6 separate regions of the Homo sapiens genome follow, and all the other regions are linked to region 1. The links are contacts of gene promoters, found by promoter capture Hi-C in blood cells and fetal thymus (Javierre and others, 2016). All regions are on one chromosome and are shown on one strand. The core of a region is centred on a gene start or on the middle of the fragment in contact, and the rest is flanking DNA. Distances in the headings are between cores, read along the strand shown.

Region 1 (4,050 bases), core at 266-2,765:
TTTCAAAACCCTAACCGGTCACATAATTAAAGGAACACAAGCTAAGCCGTAATAAAAGCAGAAACCAGTATACATAAACATTTTGGGGAAATTTCTTGTAATGACTGACATTTGCCACAGTTCGGAAACCAGATTTACAGTTTTTGCTTCAGACCTGACAGCTGAGTCGTGAGGACTTGGCCTTCAAAGAGAAGATATTTGCCCTAGAGCGCTCCCAAGTCCTGAGAAAGCACAGAGGGAGCGAAAGAGGTTTCAGCACTAGGTGCTGCTACCGAGTCTCAGGGACAACTCTCCCCTAAAAGAAAACAGAACCCCACTTCTCTAATTTTGTTTTTCCTCTTAACAGTGCAATTATTTTTAAAGGGAGTTGAGGAGGTGAGGGCACCTTGATTTTTGGAACTGGAGGCTCGGATGGCATTGTACAATCTCCCACCAAAATGTATCTATTCTGGACCAGTGAGTCTCAAACTTAGCCGAAAGGAATCATGCGGAGGGTGGGTTAAACAGCATACTGTGGAAGCCCAACGCCGGCGTTTCAGATTCAGTAGGTCTGGGATGGGCTGGAAATTTGCAATGCTAACAATTTTAAGTGCGGCGGCTGCTGCCACCGGTCCAGGGCACACTTAAGAGAATCACTACTGTAACGGGCACTGTGTTAAGTGCTGGGAGTGAATAAAATGGGTCCCGCCCGCAGGAAACCTAGTGGACATCCAGGTGAAATGAAGTCCCCGTGAGTTCCACGGTAGACTAAGGGGTGAGTCTACCCGAGGGTGCTTTCGCGCTCTGGCTGGGTGAGTGGCAGAAAAAGCCACTGATCTCGGTCGAGCAAGACAGAAGATAGTGTGAGTCACGCTGAAATTTACTTCCCTGAGCTGGTGGGGAAACTGCAGTCCCCCTCCATTCAGGACCGATTAGGGGCCTCTTGCTGTGCTGGACATCGGACTCCCAGCTTCCTCTTCCCTTGAGTCCCGCAGCTTTTCCTTCCTTCCCCAAGGAACAAAACAACTGAGATGCAGGATGTAAACAAAAGCCAGGCTGGCGAAATCCGGCCGACGCGCCCTTGGAGCGCCCCCACCGGCGAGGGCATTTCCCCCGCCCAGCCCCGGCCTCCCGGCTGGACGCCCTAACGCTGTAGTCCCTTGGTCGCCCTCCCCGCGCCCACCAGCCGTGGTCAACGCCGGACGCGTCAGGGGCCCCGCTAGCCCGAGCCTCTGCCGGGGGCAGCTGCCCCCACGCACTTTCTCCTGCTGTGCGCAGGCGCCGCCGCTCCGCGCTCTTTGCCGGCTGGGAAGAGAAGGGTCGCGGACAACTCACCTATCGCCGGAGGAGGATTCCTGCCGCCTGCGGGCGCCACGGGCAGCCCGAGGCCGGAGCGGCAGTGCCAGGCAGTCAGCAGGCAGCAGACGAGTGCGCGCACCAGCGCCATGGAGGGCCGCGGGGCTGACCTGGAGGTTCGGGCTGTCCCGCAGCTCCACTCGGACCGTCAGGCCTGAGGGTGAGGCGGAGACAGAAGACGGCTGCGGGTGTAGACGTCCGACTGATCACGTGCAAAGGCAGATTCCGCAGCGAGTCAGTTCGCCTGACCTTCAGCTGCTGTTTAGCGATGATCTGTTCTCGTATTTCTTAGCGTCAGTGTTTGGCCTAGGAAGGAATGTACTTGTAGAAGCTCAAATTCCGACTCGTGTATCAGTGGTGCAGTTGATGTCAAACACTGACATACTGGTGCTTGGGGATAGAGAAAGACATTCAATTTAGTAAAAGCCAGAAGGAGGGAGAACAAGATCTCTCAAATCCGTGTGTAAAAAGGAAAAAGCAGGGAGTTTTTATTCTGCTAGAGAATAAGAGAGGGGGATTTTCAAAGAATCCAGGGGAAAAGTCTGTTTCTTCAGTCTCAGATAACACCTTTGAGCAATTAGACGTCCAGGCATCCGCAGCTGGTTGCAAAGCCCTTGGAGGTATTCATCCCTTCTGCAAACATTTTTGTGACCCTGAAGTTAACCTCTTTGTTCTTGACGAGGAAGCAGTACCTCAGCAGTTTATAATTATATTGTGGAAACAAGGAGAATATTGGGCAAAAAGCGAGTGGTTAAAATGTGCAAGCAAGCAGGAGCCTGATCAGAATTTTCATTATTTCAGTCACTAAAAAATGCTGGGGTGCTGAAATCTCAACGATCCCGGTTCCATTCTTGGGCCAACCTACCCCAGCTTTAATGGGTAGGGCTCCTCAGTAGAGGTGATGCAGAGAGCCCTGAAGTATCATGATTTGAAGGAAATCAGCAAAAGTTATGGATACTGCAGTGGATCTCGAATTGAAGTCTCTGAACTGGGAACATTAGCACCACCTGGGAACTCTAGTTAGAAATGCAAATTCCCAGGCACCACCCTAGACCTGTTGAGTCAGAAACCTGCTGGAGCCCAGCAGTTTGTGTTTTCACAAGCATTTCAGGTCATGTTAAAGTGATTGTGATGTTTGAAAACCAATGCTCAAAGATACGACGTTTTGTTTTTTGTTTTTTTTAAACTGCCGGGAAGAGAAGGGTCTTAGAATTAGAACATGTTCTGAAATCATGCTTTATGCATTCCAGAGATGCATGGAAATCATAAGTAGAGGTGGTTGATTTGATGCTTCCACGGAACTTTTTTGAATATACTTCTGGCAAAGAAGTAAGTCTATACAAAGAAGTAAGCAAAGATAAGTCTGGCAAAGAAGTAAGTCTATACAAAGAAGTAAGCAAAGATAAGTCTGGCAAAGAAGCCAGAATCCCGAAACTGTGCTGGATCCTGTATTCTGTGTTCCTTCTCTCACCGTTTATGAGGATGCTGATCTCTTGGAGATGACAAGCTAATAATTTAAATTTATAGGGCGTGGAATTCCTTTGCAGAAGAAAATGCTTTCCATAATTACTAACCTCAAAAAAGATGTTGTAGAGTGTATTTCTTTCCCAGCATAGAAAGCTTTGTTTTGTATCCCATGTAATTTAATGGGAGTGTGTGTCATGAAACGGGCTTTGAAGTGGGAAGCAAGGTGCTTCCATTTTCTGTTTTGTAAACCAAAAATAAAATTTGAAGGCCCCCCACAACCATCTGAATGGACGACCATCTGTATGGACTCTTTCCCCAGTCAGGGCACTCTAAAATTTAACCTGAAAGACTGGTTCAGGCCATGAAAAAGGGGATGGGGGGGTTGGACATGCGTAATTAACATCAACATAGACCATAAGTCTGATAAGAAACATTTAAGATCTGTTTTCTCTAAAGCCTGCTACGTGGAGGCTTCGTCTGTGTGACAAAATCTGGGTCTAACAACCCCTTATCATAACCCAGACATCCTTTCTATTGATAATAACTTTTTCAATCAACCAATTGCCAATCAGGACATGTTTAAATCTTCCTGTGATCTGGAAACACCCACCCCCCGCCCAGCTTCAAGTTGTCCTGCCCGTCTAGATCGAACCAATGTAAAAATCTTACATGTATTGATTGCTGTATCATGTCTCCCTAAAATGTATAAAAGCAAGCTGTATCCTGACCACCTTGGGCACATGTCAAGACCTCCTGAGGCTGTGTCACTGGCCCATCCTTAACCTTGGCAAAATAAACTTCCTAAATTGATTGAGACCTGTCTCAGGTACTTTTGTGTTACAGTTTCAAGTCCTGCCAGGGCAGCCGAAGTCCTGCTTCAGCTTTTGGATGATTCAAAAGCTTGCAAGAACCAAAGTGCATTCCAGTGGAGGACAAGATGGTCCCTGGAGTTTCTCAGTTCACAACCTCTAGAATATGGGAGAAAATGGAGCCAGAAAAAACTGGTGAGCTGGTGAGAGAAAACGACTGTAAGGATTAACAAAACAACTTAGGAGTTTTTAGTCCAAACATTTAAAGCTAGGAAAAGGATAAATTATAAAAATAGCTCTTTTCACTCCTTTTTTTTTTTTTTCCAATTTCAATATACTTTACTGGAAGTAACTGGTTGCAAAATAGTTTTTCAGTAAGCATAAAACAAGGCATACACATTTTGAAACTTAAGAAATGTTTGAAATCCTAAAAAGTACA
Region 2 (3,792 bases), core at 1-2,500, 340 kb after region 1:
GCAGATTAACTGGGAACATAACCCAAGAACCAGGAAAGAATCCAAAAGAACCTGAATAGCTAAAATAAATGTTCCAAAGCATATTACTGAAAGCATGTGCACTTTATAGCCTAATTTTCTAGCCTACAATGGGTTAAAAGCAAAATATTAAAGGGAAGAGGATTGCTAGGAATAGATAAACACACAGTGATACAATTCATAAACAGCAGCAAATAAAAAATATAAAAAGCAACTCGGATGTTTTATTCAAGTGCAAAGGATGCTTTTATGTGCATCAATAACAACTAAAGGAATTCCTATAGTAATGTAATTAATGATTATTTATAATGATGATGTTGAGTCCTTTGGGGTTATACTTGAAAACAGATATCCCAATTCAAATGCTTACAGGGCCAAACCAGGTAACAAAAATGAGGGAACAGGAGGACAGAGTTTAAGTGCATAAGCTTTGTGCAAATAGACTACAATGAATTGGAGAGTATGAATGCCCCATCTAAAGTGCATTACTACTGCTCAGCTCCATTTATTAGTTGCCTTGTGGGAATGTGAACTTAGTATTGCTTGATTTTTCTAATGTTTTTCAAAAGAAGTCATAAATCTGGATTTTCATGCTAAATGACTGAGTTTCAGCTAAAAAAATTTTAAATTGGAGTGCAAGCCAAATCCAGTGTGTCTGCTGGCCTAATATTCCTCTCACACAACTAATTTGTGGTGTTTTATCTCAGTGGTTCAAGTTAAAATAATTTGGTGCTCAAAGAAATAAGCTTTAGTCATTTGGAAATTTCACTTACATTGAATACCTTGTTCTCTAAATGCAAAGTCTAATGCAAGGGTTTCTGTGTCTTTTGTTCCCTGCTGTATCCCCAGGGCCTGGAATGCAGGCATTCAATAAATATTTGTTGGATGGATCCCCTGTCAGCGAGGCAAATCTACATAAATACTTGTATATTAGGCACATATTAGCATAAAGGCTAAACAACTTGTGTATGTTGAAATTTACATAGAAAAAGCATAGGTTGACTTATTAAATAATGACTTACCCTTGCATAATATGTATCTTTTAAGATTTTAGTTCATGAGGAAAAGCATCATTGTTGTGAGGGCTTAACATTAATAATGAAAATAATTTTCTTAATGCCCTTGTTTACAACTGAGTGATAATGGTTCTTTAAAAACCTTAAGTAATATTCCTCTTATAGTTATTTTTCTTTATTTTGAAAATAATGGCTAACATGTAAACATAGTTTGTAAACTCTAATATAGATATTAGTATTAAATCCTATTAGTTTCTTACTAACTTGCCATCCTTGCAAATACATAATAGCTATGTGTAAAAACTAGAATTCTTCAGCAATAAAGGTCAGAATTAATTTTCTTTCCTGCTTTTATAGCCTTTATAATGCTGACAATGTTAGTTGCTTAAAATATATTTTTTGACAAAATGACAGATTGTTTATAAAACAGGTCCCATTTCTAATTGCTAATAATTTCTGATAAAAAGCTAATTATCCAATTATATTTCTTTCACAGCCTTGTTATCAGCTACAGCTCTGAATTATCTGCTGTCTTTAGTTGCTATCGTCCTGTTCTTTGTCTACTACACTCATCCAGCCAGTTGTTCAGAAAACAAGGCGTTCATCAGTGTCAACATGCTCCTCTGCGTTGGTGCTTCTGTAATGTCTATACTGCCAAAAATCCAAGTATGCCCTTTAAAGCATTAGTTTTTATGAAGCTTATACCTTTTTAAGTTTTCAAAAATCTAGAATGATGTCAGACTATTTACCTGTGTTGCTATATATATATATATATATTTTTTTTTTTTTTTTTTTGTAGGAATCACAACCAAGATCTGGTTTGTTACAGTCTTCAGTAATTACAGTCTACACAATGTATTTGACATGGTCAGCTATGACCAATGAACCAGGTGTGTTTTATTTATATTACATGTTCCTAAAGGTTCTGCAGTTGTTGTTTTTCCAGAAATTGTCTTTTTGTGAGATTAAATTACTTAAAAATTAGGCTTCTAGAGGAATAAAGTACAAAGTTTTGATCTTTGATGTATTATTTATTTCACTTAGTTTCTTCCATCACTAACAAAATTATAAGAAGGTTACATGTATACCTAAGAGAAACTGTGAGTTCAGTTTCAGAGCACCACAATGAAACAAGCATCACAGTAAAGCATGATTTTTTGGTTTCCCAGTGCATATAAAACTTTTGTTTATCTTACACTAGTCTGTTGTGTGCCATAGCATTATGTCTAGAAAAACAATGTACATTCCTTAATTTGAAAGTACTTTATTTCCAAAAAATGCTAACAGTCATCTGAGCCTTCATCAAGTTGTAATCTTTTTGCTGGTAGGAGGTCTTGCCTCAATGTTGACGGCTGCTGACCGAACAGGGTGTTGGTTGCTGCAGGTTGGCATGGCTGTTTTAGTATCTTTAAACTAAGACCACAATGAAGTTTGCCCATTGATTGACTCCTCCTTTCACAAAATATTTCTCTGTAGCATATGATGCTGTTTGATAGCATTTGACCCAGAGTAGAATTTCCTTCCAAATTGGAGTCAATCCTCTTAAACCTGCTCCTGGTTCATTAAGTAAGTTTATGTAATATTCTAACTCCTTTGCTGTCATTTCAATAATATTCATAGCATCTTCATCAGGAGTAAATTCCATCTCAAAAAACTACTTTGTTCATCCATAAGAAGCAACACCTCATCATTCAGGCTTGATAATGAAATTGCAGCAATTCAGTCACATCTTCAGGTTCCACTTTTTAGTTCTCTTGCTCTTTCCACCGTATCTGTAGCTACTTCCTCCACTAAAGTCTTGAAATCCTCAGTCATCTATGAGGGTTAGAATCAACTTCTTTCAAACTCCTGTTAATGTTGATATTTTGACATTTTTTCCCATGAATCATGAATGTTCTTAATAGCATCTAGAATGGTGAATCTTTTCCAGAAGGTTTTCAGTTTACTTTGTCCACCCAGATCTATCAGAGGAATTACTCTATGGCAGCTATAGCCTTACAAAATATATTTCTTAAATAATAAGATTTAAACGTTGAAATTACTCCTTTTTCCATGGGCTGCAGAATAAATACTGTGTTAGCAGACATGAAAATATTAATCTCCCTGTACATCTCTATCAGAGCTTTTGGGTGACCCAGGTGCATCGTCATTGAGTAGTAATATTTTGAAAGGATCTTTTAGCAGTAAGTCCCAACAATGGGCTTAAAATATTCCGTAACCCATACTTTCAACAGATGTGCTGTCATCTAGGCTTTTTTCTATTCATAGAGAGGCTGAATAGACTTAATATAATTCTTAAGGGCCCTAGGATTTTTGGAATGGTAAAGAACATTGGCTTTCTCTTAAAATCATTGTCTGCATTAGTCCCTAACAAGAGAATCAGCCTGTCCTTTTAAGCTTTGAAGCCAGGCATTGACTGACTTCTCTATAGCTATGAAAGTCCTAGATTATATCTTCTTACAATAGAAGTCTATGTTGTCTTTATTGAAAATCTGTTGTTTGGTTTGGCTGCTTTCTTTTTTCTTATTTTTATTTTTTTGAGATGGAGTTTCACTCTTGTTGCACAGGCTGGAGTGCAATGGCACAATCCCCGTTCACTGCAACTTCTGTCTCCTTGGTAAGCCATTCTCCTGCCTCAGCCTCCTGAATAGCTGGGATTACAGGCCTGCGCCACCACACCCAGCTAATTTTGTATTTTTAGTAGAGATTGGGTTTCACCATGTTAGCCAGGCTGTTCTCGAACTCCTGACCTCAGGTG
Region 3 (4,023 bases), core at 179-2,678, 350 kb after region 1:
GACTACAGGCGCTCGCCACCATGCCCGGCTATTTTTTGTATTTTTTAGTAGAGACGGGGTTTCACCGTGTTAGCCAGGATGGTCTTGATCTCCTGACCTCGTGATCCACCCACCTCGGTCTCCCAAAGTGCTGGGATTACAGGCGTCAGCCACTGCACCCGGCCGGCATCATCCTTTTTAACAATTATTCTGGCCAGGTGCGGTGGCTCATGCTTGTAATCCCCGCACTTTGGGAGGCCGAGGAGGGCAGATCACCTGAGGTCAGGAGTTTGAGACCAGCCTGGCCAACATGGTGAAACCCCGTCTCTACTAAAAATACAAAAAATTAGCCAGGCGTAGTGGTGCACGCATGTAATCCCAGCTACTCCAGAGGCTGAGGCAGGAGAATCGCTTGAACCCGGGAGGCAGAAGTTGCAGTGAGCTGAGATTGCGCCATTGTAATCCCTGTCTGGGCAACAGAGCAAAACTCTATCTCAAACAAAACAGAACAAAAATTATTCTTTTCATACTTGACAAAACAAAGATATATCTCTTATCCATTCTGAATCTTACCAATGCACTTTGGAAAAAAATCTCCAGACAATTGGTAAAGGGACATTTAAAAATATTGGTGAGAAAGAGATGACACTGAGTTAAAAAAAACTTTTTTTTGTGATTTAGCTGGTTTCTAATATTTTGCTTTCAACAAAATTGAAAGATGATCCAACTGAGTCATCAATTGATAGAATTCTGGTACATAATTCTAAAGGTATTAAAAAATTAACAGTACTATACAAAACTGCTTTTTCATCTACTTGTCATTTTGTACTATAAACAAAGATTCTCAGGATTTTAACATCAGTGAAAACAAAAATAGGAATAAAATTGGTACTAACTTTTATTATGAAAACTCAGGAAGAGCTGTTTATTCCACTATAAGATATATTTTTGGTAAAACTTTTTGTTTAACAGATCATCAAAATTAGACTCTAATTGTAGTAAACATTACAAGCTATAACAGATCAACCCCCAAAAACTCAGGTAGAAAAAAGGTTTGTTTCCCCTCACCTGAAGTGTAAAATGGTTATCCAGGACTGATAGGTGGCCTTCCTCTAAGCAGTAATTCAAGAAGCCATTTTTTTCCTTCTTGATTGTATATTTGAAAGCTACATACAACTCTGCATCAAGCCAGTGGAGGGGTAAATGGCATGGGAGGAATGCATGGGGGAAGTTACACCACCAGAACTGGAAGTGCTACACATCACTTCTCCTGTTTTACTGATTAAAACTCAGTTACATGGCTACCCCATCTGCAGTGGTGGAAATAATCTAGCCACATGATAGGAAAAGGAAACGGTCTGGCAATCAGTTAAGTCTCTACCATATATATTTATATGGTTTTAATCCACTGTGTAGTTATACAGTATAAAATTGGAGGGAAAGTTTTTTAATGCCTAGAATCTTACAGTTATGGGAAACAATCTCAAATTTAGATGTAAAGAGGTGTCACGAAAGATCATCATTGTCTAACTTTCAAACATAAAAAAGCAGGATAAAATTCTTTGGAGGAAGCCGGGCACGGTGGCTCATGCGTGTAATCCCGGCACTTTGGGAGGCCGAGGCAGGCAGATCACCTGAGGTCAGGAGTTCAAGACCGGCCTGGCCAACATGGTGAAACCCCATCTCTACTAAAAATAAAAAATTAGCCAGGTGTGTTGGCACATGACTGTAGTCCCAGCTACTCAAGAGGCTGAGGCAAGAGAATCGCTTGAATCTGGGAGGCGGAGGTTGCAGTGAGCCGAGATCACGCCACTGCTCTCTACCCTGGGCGACAGAGTGAAAGTCTGTCTCAAAAAAAAAATTGTTTGGAGGAAGTAGAGTGGATGATAGAGATCAAATCACTATGGCATTCAAATTCCTTTAGGTAAATGTTAAAGAAACATATAACAATTATGTTTTAAAACAGCAATATTAACTATATCCTAAATTCCTTCCAACTATTTAAACTTAAGATGAAAAATCTTAAATGTCAACTTTAAAAGTACCAGGGTCATAATCAAGTTTTTCAAAATTATTTTTTAAGTGCTTCTAGAGTTCCAAAATGCCCCCAAGAAGAAGAAACTTGACTGTATTTCACAATGAGAAAGGAATGAAGAAAAGTCTTTTAAGGTTTTCTCCTCTCAGTTTCTAAACTCTTATCACCCTTAGAAACATAACCTCTTCAGCTCACGCAGAGCACTGTTGTAGGGTCTTGAATTAATTCACCAAGATCCCACCATCAGAGCCAAGTATTTTAGGATCTAACTAAAACTCTCCTAAGGGAATTTTCCTATTCTTCTGTGCTAGCCCTTACTTTGAATCTTTACATCATAATAAAAGAAATTCTAAGACACTGACAGAATATGGCCAATAGGAAAACCTGCCTTGAAACTCATTAAATAGCCCTATACAATATTAATTGTACTGCTTTCAGCCCTTTGCCCAAAGGTGAAATTCTTCACATGATAAAGTGCCCTGGCCTTGCATTAAGTCTCCATAATTCTCTTGGGCAACTGTTTCAAAGGAAAGAGGTGATTTGACTATTTCTCTTATCTTCTCTCCAGACATCCAGTGATAATATTCTTACACTATTTGGGACAATGAGAGGCATAATTCTCTCACTTTTTTATTAGAAACATAGAAAGCAACCCAGTATAATTTTTAAACAAAGAACTTTAAAATACATTAAATTTAGAGATTATATTTCTCCCTTGTTGCAATATACAATATATTTTCGAGATGAGGCACAAATATCTTGGTATGATTCATATTGAGAATAATGAACCACAGACAGTTTAAAGCTACTGCTTCCTATGAGAAGAAAAAATTGTTTCATGTGAGTGTCACCTCTAAAGAAGACACATAACAGACACTAGTACTCAACATTCATTGTATTTATTTTACTAAACAGTATGGTTCAAAAAAACACAAACCGGAAAACCTTTATTTAAAACTAGTCCAACTAACTGGATGGGGCTCACTCCATCCCATCCCACCCCCGATCTTTCTATATATATGGAGCTGGAACCCTATCAGACAGCGAGCATTCACGTACACTTTGTCTTTCCTGTTGAACATGAATAAACGTCTTTGAACATAAATGAACTTCTCTGAACCAAAAGAAACAAATGAAGTTTTACAAGATACAGGCACTTTATGTTCCCAGTTTTAAAAATAAGCCAAGTGAAAAATATTTAATAAAAATAACTGGAGCAGAGAAAGCTTTAGGAGTTATACCATTAGTTCAAATGACTTACACTCAATGCAAATAGACAGCATCAAACAGGAAAACAAACAAAAATTTAACTGAGGTTAATGGTCGTATTTGTAAAAAAAAGATATCCAATTTACCAAAATTGGAGAAAAATGGCCATTTGAATCCAACTTAAAGATACGCCAATAATGTGCATTACATCTGCGTAACTATGCAGCTGAGTAACACCTGAAAGCTCTGCAAGAGTGTGTGGTTAGTGAGAAAAGCAAAAGGTGCTTTTATTCCACAGTATCTGATTAAACAAAACAAAGCAATTTACAAAAAAAGTACCAAATGATACTTTAAAATAAATAGTTCATCATTTTGATGAATATATACATGTAAAGTCCACTTCCTGGGGATTTAGCTATCTAAAAGTGGCATATCACTATCCAGAGGTGCAGGAGCAAGTTCACATAAATAAAACAGTGTAGCTTCACTAGCTTCAGCTTCAGTCAATGGCTCCAGGCGAACAAGCTTACTTTGGGTTGGTTCTGGGTCTAGGCTGCTATCCAGAAGCTCATCAACTTCTATGGGTTTATCTACAGAGGACAAAACTTCTGATGATGCTGTTGTACTCGCCTGTTCAACAGAAGAAGCAGGGTTCCCATCGAGGAATGCAAGAAGTGGAAAGGCGGTATACTGGATAAGCTGCTTATCTATAAAGATCAGAAAAACACTCTTTTATCACCAGCTTATACTGAGTTCAAGCTGAGGGGAAAAAAATGAAAACAGAGATGTACACATAGGCA
Region 4 (3,651 bases), core at 88-2,587, 380 kb after region 1:
AAGTAAATTAGTTAAGTTCCTATGACACATGGTGATATATTTATACATCCCACAACTGTCTTGAGTAGTCCAGTCCCTCCTTGATGTCTTCAGACCAACATTCTATTCTTGACAACAGGAACAAGAAACAAAATTGCAATTAAGCAACAAATTGCAACTAAGCTTTTTGATGTCAACCTCAAAAGTTTAGGAACATATCTCAAACCAAATGCCACATCACACTCTATGGTGAAATATTAGAACTTCCATTAAACCAGCAATGAGAAAATGAAATACAATTATGTAGACAGCATAATTAACATTGTTTTAAAACTAGTGCAATTAAGACCAAAATAAAAAAAAAAGATTTTGAGAGGAAGTACCATTTTATAATTATTTGCAGTAGACATAGTAGACATAATTGTATCTTTGTAAAATCAATTTAAAAACCCTTTAAGAATTCAGTAAGATACGTGGTTACTAAATTAATATTAAAAGTCACTAGTGTTTTTCTCTACAAAAAACAAACACCTGGAAACACTACAAAAATAAAGTAATCAAAGTAGCATGGTACTGGCATACTGACAAACATATAGATCAATGAAATAAAATAGACAGCCCAGAAATAAACCCTGCCAAAGGATTTTTGACAACAGTGTCAAGACCATTCAATAAAAAAAGGACAGTCTTTTCAACAAATGGTGCTGGGAAAACTGGATATCTACATACAAAAAAATGAAGTTAGACCCTTATCTGATAACATATATAAAAACTAACTTCAAATCAATCAAAGACCTAAACACAAGAGCTAAAGAAACTTTTAACAATAGTAGAGCATGACATTAGACTTGGCAATGATTTATTAAATGTAACACTAAAAGTACAGGCAACAAAAGCAAAAATAGACAAATGGAACTACATCAAATCTAAAGACTACCAACAGACTGAAAAGGCAACCCTCAGAATGGAAAGAAGAAAGTGCAAATCATATACCTCAGGAGTTAATATCCAGAACATAGACATAACTCTTAAAATTCAAAAAGAACAAAAGACAAAAAAAACCCAAACAACCCGATAAAAAACGAGCAAGGATGTGAGTAGATATTTCTTCAAAGAAGATATACAAACTTCCAATAAGCAAATAAAAAGATGGTCAGTAACACAAATCATTAGGGAAATGAAAATCAAAACTAAAACAATATACCACTGCACACCCATTAGAATGGCTATTATCAAAAACGCATAAAACAAGTGTTCACAAGGAAGTGGAGAAATTGGAATATTGGTGCATTATTGGTGGGAATGTTAAAATAGTGTGGTTGCTGTGGAAAACACTATGATAGTTCCTTTAAAAATTAAACAAAGAACATATAATCCAGCAATTCCATTCCTAGGTATATACTCAAAAAAAAAAAAAAAACCCAAAAACAACAACAAAAAAACAAAACAAAAAAAACCATAAAAGCAACGACTTGAACAGATATTTGTACCCCATGTTCACAGTAGCATTTTTCACAACAGGCAAAAGGTAGAAGTAACTTCAGTATCCACCAACACATGGTGAAATATATATGGATAAAGTATGGTATATACATGCAATGAAATATTATTTCACCTAAAAAAGGAAATTCTCACAAGCTACAACATGAAAAGAACTTTGAAAACATTATGCTGTGAAATAAGCCAGTCACAAAAGAACAAATACTGTACAATTCCCCTTATATGAAGTTTCCATAATAGCCAATTTCAGAGACAAAAAGTAGAATGGTGGTTGTCAGGGGCTGCGGGGAGGAAGGAGTTAGAAGTTATTGTGAAATGGGTATAAAGTTTCAGTGTGGAAAGATAAAAATTGTTCTGGAGATGGATGGTGGTAATGGTTGCCTAACAATGTGAATCTAACTTAATGCACTTAAAATGGTTAATTTTATGTTATGTATATTTTACCACAATTAAAAAAATTAGAAACTAAAATGGAATAAAATATCCCAATAATAATAGAAAAATGTTAAGTATCTAAAAATAAAATTTAAAAATATACAGGAACTTTAAAAATATTAAAACTATAGAAATACAAAAGGAAGACAAATGCAGTATTGTAAAGGTGTCAATTCTCTCTAAATTAACCAATACATTAAATTCTGTCTTAATTAAAAAAATGATTTGTGGAGTAAAGATGAATTGATGCTATCATAACCAAATGTTAGGTACATAAGTTCATTTGTAAAAATAATTACATAACAACAGGAAAGAAAATATTGAGAACAATGGGGAGGAGTATTTTAACCCTACCCAATACAGATTATAAAATTATAGTGTTAACAATTTAGTACAAAAGAAGAAGTGATTACATAGATGAATGGACTGACTAGAGAGGACAGATGAACCAGCAAATCTATCTGAGAATTTACCAGGTAGTAAGTCAAGATGGCATTCAAATGGGGGGATAATCAGGAAAGAAAAGGATTAAGAAATTTTCCATTTGGGAAGAAAAATAAGAGCTCGATGTCATCTTACTCTTTACAAGCAAGCTTTTGGAGACATGACATAATAAACCCAGAAGACATATAGATAAAATATAAATTTATCCATGGAGACTGCTAGCTTCCTACTCTATCTCTACTCTCCTCTACTTTCTTCCTAACAGAAACACAATTTTGATGAAAAACACATTGTGAAATTTAGAAGAGACCCAGACTCATAAATGAAGAATGTAGAGCAAAACAAATAATGATTTTCCCTTATTAGATTAAATTTACAACCCTTGACAATAACCAGTATTGGCAACTAGGTAATTATCAAAATTAAAATGCTTAAAATGCATACGTCTTTTCCTATCTTAAAAGAACTTTCCCTCTTATACCTTCTTTTTCAATCTACCCATCTGTCTTTTCCTTAACTGCAAAATTTAACAAGCAGGTATTTTAAACCCCCCTTCTCCAATTCAGGACCATCCACTTACTCTCACTGAAAACTGCTTTTGGTTCCCTCACTCGACTGAAACCAGATTTCTAAAATGTCAAATATCAAATTCAATGCCCTCTTTTCAGTCCTGATCTTCCTACACCTCTCTGTGGCATTTCATTTGGTACAACTAACAATCTCCTCCTTAAATGTTCGACTCTCTGGGCTTTGATGCTAAACACTGTTGAGTCTCTTATCTCTTATATTTCCTTTCAATTTTCTTCCACCTATCAAATAAGAGGTAGCTGTATTTTCCAGGTTTTTATCCTTAATCGTGGCACCATTCATATTCTTTCCTTAGAATTCATCCACAGTAGGGTATCTTATTATTGACTTTATTTTATAATAAACACATCTACAGCTCTGTCCCTGATCATCTCAAATTACACACTTCAATTTAAAATGTTAACATTTTTTACACTATGTTCTTTAACTCAGTATGTTCTAAACCCATTTCCTGTTTCCCCGGAAGTCAATCTTTTCTTGTGTCTTCCATTCTACCAAGTCCCTTCCTCACTAAGTCACCCGACAACATTTGATGTCAAAAAAAAAAAAAAAATGAAGTTAAAAACTCTCATTCTAACAGCTAGTAAGGGGGAAACATTAAAACATTCCCTTTAAAAATTAAGAACAAAGCCAGAATGCCATGATAATTGCTTCTACTCACTCTTAGTTACTGCCAAAAGAAAAACGGAAGGCATAAAGGTCTGA
Region 5 (4,050 bases), core at 187-2,686, 400 kb after region 1:
GTATTTCCATAGGCTGTTGTCTCTGCCTGCAGAGCCCTTCTTCACCATTTTCCCCTAAATTCTTCTTCAACCTTCCAGGTCAAGTACAATCCCGTACAAACATAAGTTCTTTTGTGAAATCTTCCTTGGTAACATTTATTATAGCACTTACTACATCATATTATAATTATTTATTTACATGTATTTTTCATTCTAGACTATGAAACTGCTTCAACATAAATACTATGTCATATGTACATTCACTTATTTACAATGACATTCACAATGCATGATATATGTTAAAATATCAATAAATATTTGTTGAATTAATAAATGAATACATGAACAGGTAAGTGCTAATCATCTGTTTATTCTTGCATGACCCCCAAATCTGGGTTAGTTGTTCCTCCCATGTGCTCCTATAGCTCTGGAACTTGACCTTCATAGTTTTTACCACACTATTGCTGCTCATTTACTTCTCAACAACCCTTACTAGACTAGCAGATTGTGCTTGCATTGTTCACTCTTGTATCCTGAGCACTCAACACAGTGCTAATAATAACGTAGGAACTGCTCAATAAATATTTGTTGAATTAATAATTTTAGCTTTTGAAATCCTTTGGATAAAATGTGCTCTACCTAATAATAAGGAAACCCCTTACAATTTATTCTCAGTCAGTAGAAACCTTTTTGTTTACAAGAGAAGAAAATGAAGAGAAGAGCTTAAGGATAGCTCAACTGAGAAGCATGCGAATGAGGAGCTGTTAGTAACTGAACAAATATTAGAATCCTGGAAATGCCAGATGTTAACAGAATGCTATAGAGGCCCAGGTTTGAGGTCACTTATATCTTCAAAACAAATGACAGTGGCAAAATGCTTAAGGACTCTTGAATAGGCTTTTGAGTAAGTGAAGAGCTAGAAGACTGTGAAAGTTAATTTTTAAAATTTTTCAAGAAGTTTTCTTCTTCTAAGGCTACAACCTGGGTGCAAAAGACACTAGCCAGAGGAGCTTTTTACATGGGAAATGTGTTAGTACTGCTTGTACCAGACTCGGGCTGGAACTGCTCTACATTAAAACTCCAATCTATGCCAGATTTGCTAGAATCCAATCAGTCATCCAACTAGGGTGACAAACTAGTTCAGGTTAGCACAATACATTTCCAGTTTTAATACTGAAAGTCCTATGTCCCAGGAAATCCCTCAGCCCCAGGCAAACCAGATTGTTTGATCACCCTAACTCAGCCTCTTCCAGTTATTTATGTTGGACAGGAAGCAGAGGCTCTTTAAGCAAAGCAAAATATTGTATAGCGACAATGTAGATACGGGATCTGGAAACTCTAATGCAGCTTTGGCCTTTCTGGAAGCAGTGCGGAGGCTCTCTTTCACAGGCACTCCAACAGCTAGCTGATAAATAGAAGGAATTGATGTACCCCTGCAACTCAAGGTCCCCGTGAAGGCTCAGACACACACAGAGAGATGTTGATAAGAAAGAAAATTCAAGGCTAAAAACCGTCAAGGACTGGAAACATTAGAAAAATGGAGTGGAATAGAGAAATGGCCTGCAATATAAGCCTTCCATTATTTCTACTAGAACAAAACCATGTTAGGGTTTAAGTTTCTACTTCACTGGGACTTGTCTTGTTCCAAGAGGAGGTGGTGTCCAAGATAGATGGAATGTGTTAGGAGTTTATCTTTCGGAAAATGTGGTTTAAGTCATCATTTTATTCAAATCATTTGATAACTAAGACCTTTGAGGTCCTCAAAGATGAAATGAGCTGAATTATAGGAATTGGATACAGAAATACACTCATGCTTTGAATACTAAACTGGAGAAATTGGGTTCAGTGAGGAGGCAGTCACTGTCACAGCTGTGTGTCATGATCTGAGAGGTGTCTGTGAAGAGCTGGTAACCACTGGGACATTTCTAACCTCTTTAGAGTTTAGTCATCTACTATGAGCAGCATCCACTTACCAGCCATAAAGAGAGATGACTTTTCTATTCTGTGCTCACAGCGTGGTGCAGTACAGTAGAGATGAAACAAAGGCTCAACCTGCTGCTTTCTGAGAAGGCATCCTAGGATAGAACTGAATGAATTCTGATCTTTCGGAGAAAAGTCTGCCATTGTCTGAATCAAGTAGTTGCTAGGACCTCTTAAAGATTTGCGGTTGGGCGCAGTGGCTCATGCCTGTAATCCTAACACTTTGGGGAGGCCAAGGCGGGCGGATCACAAGGACAGGATCAAGACCGTCCTGGCTAACACGGTGAAACCTTATCTCTACTAAAAATACAAAAAATTAGCCAGGCGTGTGGGACACGCCTGTGCTCTCAGCTACTCCGGAGGCTGAGGCAGGAGAATTGCTTGAACCCAGGAGGCGGAGTTTGCAGTGAGCTGAGACTGCGCCACTGCACTCCAGCCTGGATGACAAAGCAAGACTCTGACTCAAAAAAAAAAAAAAATTTGCTACTTAATGGCAGAACTCTTGATTTATAAAGCCCTTATATATGGTAATTGTTATATTTGCTATAATTTACTTTAAAATACTACAATTTAAAGAGGAGTATATAGTGTGGTAGTTAATTGTAATCTGCACCCTAGGGGCAGTCAAGTTAACAGTTGAAAAACCCGAATTAGGAAGGCATTCTCCAGGGGTGGTTAGTTAGCATATGAAAGACTAATCTAATGCTTTTCCTATGAAGATTTAATCTTAATGTTTATTTTTTTAATTAATACCAAAGTTTTGTTAACTAGGGCAATGGATGTGGAAATGATTTCTTTCTTGGTAAAATTAATGAAGTTCAGGATATGTGTATTGACTAAAAATAGTGTATTGTCTTTCCCCATTTTTGACTAACCTGAGAATGGTGTTATCTTGAACTGGTAGCCTATTCTCTAGGTGCCCTAACCTTAGGATCCTCATAGACCCAGTGTTCAGGGGATTTAGGTGGCCTGAAGCAAGAGTAAAAATAGAGGCTTACATGCCATATTTCAGAAGTTTTAAAGATTGCAAATCAAGCTAACAAACTTAAATAAAATATGTTCTAGTCTCCTAGCTTGAAAAATATATCTTCATAATAATAAAATTAAAAGATATGTGTCAAATCATAGTTTTCAGCTGGGCATGGTGGTGCATGCCTGTAGTTCCAGCTACCCAGGAGGCTAAGGCAGGATTGCTTGAGCCCAGGAGTTTAAGGCTGCAATGAGCTGTGATTGCGCCAGTGCACTGCAGGCTGGGTAACAGAGTGAGACCCTGTCTCAAAAAACAAAAAAACAAACAAACAAACAATGTATGTATAGTTTTCATAAGACACTAGGTTGGCAAAATATTTTTAAATTAACTTTGATCCACGAAGATCAAATGTAATTATTGTTTGGTGTTCTGTTGATGGAGGAATGATGTTTTTGATGATTAATAAAATAGAGATATATAATTTGTAGATCATTGTATATTTATTCCATAAAATTATTTTTTCTTGCCTATATTTCAGTTAGATTGTCACCATCAAGGTTGTCACATAACCTATGTTCTATTGGATCAAAGTATTTGAAATGTAGTTGTATTCAAAGTACAACTGTATTTAACAACCAAATCTGAATATATTTTATAAAATGTATTTCAAATACATGTTAAAAATAGGAAAATTAAAGTTTTTGTACATTTTGTTTTAAAATATTTAGAAATATCATAAAATTAAAAATTAAATTATAATTAATAAATTTCTAATTTAAAAACAAAATCATTCATATAAATTTGACATTTTAAGCTTAATATTTTGAAACTATAATCAGATTGTATTAAACATTTCAAAAAAATAAACTATTCTCACTCAGAAGCAGCTGGCATGGGCATAAAGTAGTACAACCTGCAAACCTTGTGTCTCAAGGGCGTAGGAGAAGAATTTTCCTGGAGCTCTTAGTTGCTGGAATAATGTTTAGAGTTACACTATGCCAACACGGAGTGCTGGATTCCAAATGATAGAAGTGACCGTTTGTTCCTTAATAAATTAATTTTTTGGTATGTGTTATGATATTCAGGGCTCTTTAAGGTGCTGGGCTCCAAAAAGAGATTCC
Region 6 (3,801 bases), core at 885-3,384, 300 kb after region 1:
AATTAGTGGAAAAGCAATATAAATATATATCTGGAAACATTACTGAGGCTATCGCTGGTCCCATATTGTTCCCTGAGTGCTTAATGTTATCAGTGATAAAGAGCCCGAAGTAACCATAGGTCGTAGATCTAAAAGGCACACGTTCCCTAAGAAGCTCATGACTTCCCTATAACCTGAATTCTACTTGCTTTTCCTCTGCTCAGTTTTTGTCCCATGAACACTACCCACGAACAACCAGAGATTCTCTCAATATGCTTACAATCAATTTTTCTTAAGCCATAACTCCTCCTTCTGTGTTTAGCATGAATACATAAATGTATTTCTCTCTCTAAAATCAGTATCCTTTCAACTGACATGTTCTCATACCTCTCCCTCACTGTTCTGGTGGCCCTCTGCTGCCCCCTCTTGGTTCTAGGCTACCCTCTCAAGCGCTGAGATGTGTGGCTTAAGCCTCTGAATAAAACCTCCAAGTGTTTTTGAAATATCTGCGTAACTAATCCACAGTTGGTGAGTCTTAGCTTTTAGTAATGTAGTGGAATTACAAAGGGCTTTCAGTACTCATAATTCTAACATATAACTAAAGAAAATTTGCTGACTGTAAAAACAACATATTTATTTTTACCGAGTAGCTTTAGAAATTCAGCTCAAATCTTTCTAGATTAACCTTAGTTTTCTAGATAAAAACAAGGTACAGAAATAATGAATGTTCCCAATAATGCAGTGATTCTTGATATTTTTGAGTCATAAATGGCTATGAAATCAGATCAAAACTATAACTCAGAGGAGTGTGTATTCAAAGGCTATGCACCAGGACACTGAAATGTGCTTCCACAACCTATTTTCAAGAAATGACTTGTTGCACCAGTAGTGAGGAGTGCTATCTGCAGACATCTTTCAGCTGTTCACTTCTTCAGGAAGACTTGGTTTGCCCAAGGCCACACGTCCCTTCTAGAGGCCTACGTTAATGACTAATTTTTACAGTAGGTAGCTAGCCAGGCATGAGCGGGGGAGGAGAGGGCTCCCCCAACTCCAACAGGAATGTCAGGTGACCATCAGGTGATGGTCAGGCAGTTGTCACACTGCCTCTCTAAAATAATAATAGATGATTCCCAAAAAGATCTCAGGAATTGGGTGAGTGAGCTCAAGCATGCACATTAAGAGGCAAAATGGTGGAGTTTAACTGGTATATGACCTTCCAGAAGCATTCCACTGGTAAAGAGAAGAATGCCTCAAGTGAGCATGCGTATAACTCCAGTAACACACTGTGCATGAGAACAGGCAGCTCCAAGTGCAGAATAAAGAGATAAGGGATGCAAGACCATGGAAGTATGTCAAGATATAAAACCCCAAGTCAAAAGGTCAAACCCCACACTTGTCCTTCAAGTGGCCTGCTTGGGCCTCTTCCTAGTGTACTTTTCTTCCCGCTGTAAAGCTTTTTAATAAACTTTCACTCCTGCTCTAAAACTTGTCTCAGTCTCTTCTTCTCCTTTATGCCCCTCAAATTTTTTCTTCTGAGGAGGCAGGAACTGAGGTTGCTGGAGACCAGTATAGATTCACTGCCACTAACATAATCACTGATGGGTGATCTTAGCCCCATTCAGGCAACTCTAAAGGGTCATTCTAGTTCTAGAGCTTCCCTATGGATTCAGCTGAGGCTAAAGCTGGGCTGTATCACAGCACAACTTCTTCCTCTGCCTACTTGTATTAGGCAATTTTTGCTAGCTATAAAGAAATAGCTGAGACTGAGGAATTTATAAATAAAAGAGGTTGAATTGGCTTATGGTTCTGCAGGCTGTACACGAAACATAGTGCTGTCATCTTCTGCTGAGGCACTCAGGAAGCTTACACTCATGGTGGAAGACAAAGGGTAGCCAATATGCCACATGATGAGAATGAGAGCAAGAAAGAGAGAAGGGAGAGGTCCCAGATTCAAAACAACCAGATCTCTGTGTGAACTGAAAGGAAACTCACTCATCACCGAGAGGATGGTGCTAAACCACTCATGAGGGACCTTTCTCCATGATCCAATCACCTCCCGCCAGTCCCCACCTCCAACATTTGGAATCATATTTCAACATAAGATTTGGAAGAGGTAAACATCCAAACCATAATACTACTACTGTTTTCTTTCCCTCCCTGCCAGTTGTATTGATCTCTTTGGTAAGGGCACACTTTAATAAACATCCTCACGCTAAACTTCATCTCAGAGCCTCCTTCCTGAAGAAGCCAACATGTGACAACTACAAACATAACTATATAAAGCAGCACCTTTTCTTTCTCCTGGAAATTATTCAAAAGCTACAAGAAGATGCTTTTATAAGTTTGAAAAACATTTTTGGAGGACTTAGACACAATTTGAATGACTCTATAAATCAGCATTTTCCCTTTTTCTTGGAAATTATTCAAAAGCTACAAGAAGAAGCTTTCATAAGTTTGCAAACTATTTTTGAAGAACTTGGATGCATATTTAACTCCCAGACTCCATTTTATATCAAACACTATCAAAAGCACATGACATTTTTTTGTATACACAGAAAGGGCAGTGAAAACAAGAATCCCTGGTGATAAATCTCAAGAGCAGGGATCCACTGAAAAATAGATCTCAAAAAGCACTTGCAAAATATACTTCCTGAAAGTGTGGGTATACTGTGAAGCCAAAAAGTAATATTCCTTTTTTGTGACCGTTAGTACAAAGACTGAATGGATTGAGTTGTCATGTCTTTCTTCTTAAGAAGGCCTGGGGCTATAAAAAGAATTATACAGAAAAATCATATTTATAAGAAGTAACATGACTCTGTAACAGGAAAGGAGAAAGCTTTTGCTCTATGAAAATTACTTAGCCAGAAACTTTATCTTTCCTTCATATCCCAAAAGAAACCTCTTACAAATGGCCAGTCCAGGAAAGCCTAACTCATTCAATGATAAGTAGTATTTTAAAAGGAGAGAATCCATTTTTAAATTACTGTTTTGGCCAGGCTCATGCCTGTAATCACAGCACTTTGGGAGGCTGAGGCAGCTGAATCACTTGAGGTGAGGAGTTCAAGACCAGCCTTGCCAGCATGGCAAAACCCCATTTCTATTAAAAATACAAAAATTAGCTGGGTGTGGTGGCAGGTGCCTGTAATCCCAGCTACTCAGGAGGCTGAGGCAGGAGAATAAATTGAACCTGGGAGGCAGAGGTTGAAGTGAGCTGAGACTGTACCACTGCACTCCAGCCTGGGCAACAAAGCAAGACTTTTCTCAAAAATAATAATAATAACAATAATAATAATAATAATAATAATAAATGAAATACTATTTTTAAAAGTCTCTTATTTTTCCCCCTTCTTTAAAAAAATCTATTAATTCTTTTTACTTCCTGTCCTTTGAGGCAGCTAACACAAGTAGAAACTTTAGGACCAAGGAAACTATTGGGGCTATTGAGGTGGGCAGGGCCTAGAAGGCAACTTTCTGGGTCAGGAGTTTGATTATATACAGGAGGAAAAAGCAAATAAGTGAATAAATTGAGAATAATGAGAACCAAGTTTCTCACTATTGGATAAATGAGTTACAAATATGAAAAGCCAATGGCCAGAATGATCCCTGTGGTATTATGTTTCAATTGGAATTATCACTGGGAACACACAATTTCTTAGATAGACAGAGATAGACAGATAGATACAGAAGTAGATACAAATGTTTGTGTATGTGAGTGACAGACATTTTCTACCTCTGCCTGGTGGGAAAGCCTAGAAGCAATTAATCCCAGGAGCAGTGAGCAGACGTAGTGCTCCAATGTTGGTTTCTAAGTATCATTCTTCT

Evidence for each region. Contacts are between HindIII fragments. The CHiCAGO score rates a contact against its expected background, and 5 or more counts as called.
Region 2: a contact is called between a fragment that was not itself captured here and the fragment with the promoter of SMPDL3A in region 1, in 2 of 17 cell types (M0 macrophages and monocytes). The highest score is 6.6, in M0 macrophages.
Region 3: a contact is called between a fragment that was not itself captured here and the fragment with the promoter of SMPDL3A in region 1, in 1 of 17 cell types (monocytes). The highest score is 5.2, in monocytes.
Region 4: a contact is called between a fragment that was not itself captured here and the fragment with the promoter of SMPDL3A in region 1, in 1 of 17 cell types (monocytes). The highest score is 5.8, in monocytes.
Region 5: a fragment that was not itself captured here is called in contact with the fragment with the promoter of SMPDL3A in region 1 in 1 of 17 cell types (monocytes); the score reaches 8.0 in monocytes.
Region 6: a fragment that was not itself captured here is called in contact with the fragment with the promoter of SMPDL3A in region 1 in 2 of 17 cell types (monocytes and M2 macrophages); the score reaches 6.8 in monocytes.

What each region holds. Positions count from the first base shown.
Region 1 is chr6:122,786,723-122,790,772 of GRCh38, reverse strand. It overlaps SMPDL3A (sphingomyelin phosphodiesterase acid like 3A), which reads right to left and starts at 1,515. Exons shown (of 8, transcript NM_006714.5): 1 at 1,315-1,515. The coding sequence starts at 1,426. RefSeq lists silencers at 1-89, 1,195-1,489 and enhancers at 704-1,203, 1,204-1,705. The HindIII fragment of the contact is 3,428 bases long and covers 1-2,957 here.
Region 2 is chr6:122,449,796-122,453,587 of GRCh38, reverse strand. It overlaps SERINC1 (serine incorporator 1), which reads left to right. Exons shown (of 10, transcript NM_020755.4): 6 at 1,531-1,700; 7 at 1,834-1,924. Among named protein-coding and RNA genes, the nearest start is that of SERINC1, 20 kb to the left of the region's middle. The HindIII fragment of the contact is 968 bases long and covers 767-1,734 here.
Region 3 is chr6:122,431,832-122,435,854 of GRCh38, reverse strand. It overlaps HSF2 (heat shock transcription factor 2), which reads right to left. Exons shown (of 13, transcript NM_004506.4): 13 at 2,736-3,930. The coding sequence ends at 3,635. Among named protein-coding and RNA genes, the nearest start is that of HSF2, 34 kb to the right of the region's middle. The HindIII fragment of the contact is 3,628 bases long and covers 1-3,242 here.
Region 4 is chr6:122,408,697-122,412,347 of GRCh38, reverse strand. All of the region lies in intron 1 of HSF2 (heat shock transcription factor 2), which reads right to left. Among named protein-coding and RNA genes, the nearest start is that of HSF2, 11 kb to the right of the region's middle. The HindIII fragment of the contact is 2,345 bases long and covers 165-2,509 here.
Region 5 is chr6:122,391,571-122,395,620 of GRCh38, reverse strand. No RefSeq gene overlaps it. Among named protein-coding and RNA genes, the nearest start is that of HSF2, 6.1 kb to the left of the region's middle. RefSeq lists an enhancer at 1,770-2,388. The HindIII fragment of the contact is 4,618 bases long and covers 1-3,745 here.
Region 6 is chr6:122,488,708-122,492,508 of GRCh38, reverse strand. It overlaps a transcript of PKIB not described here. Among named protein-coding and RNA genes, the nearest start is that of SERINC1, 19 kb to the right of the region's middle. The HindIII fragment of the contact is 581 bases long and covers 1,844-2,424 here.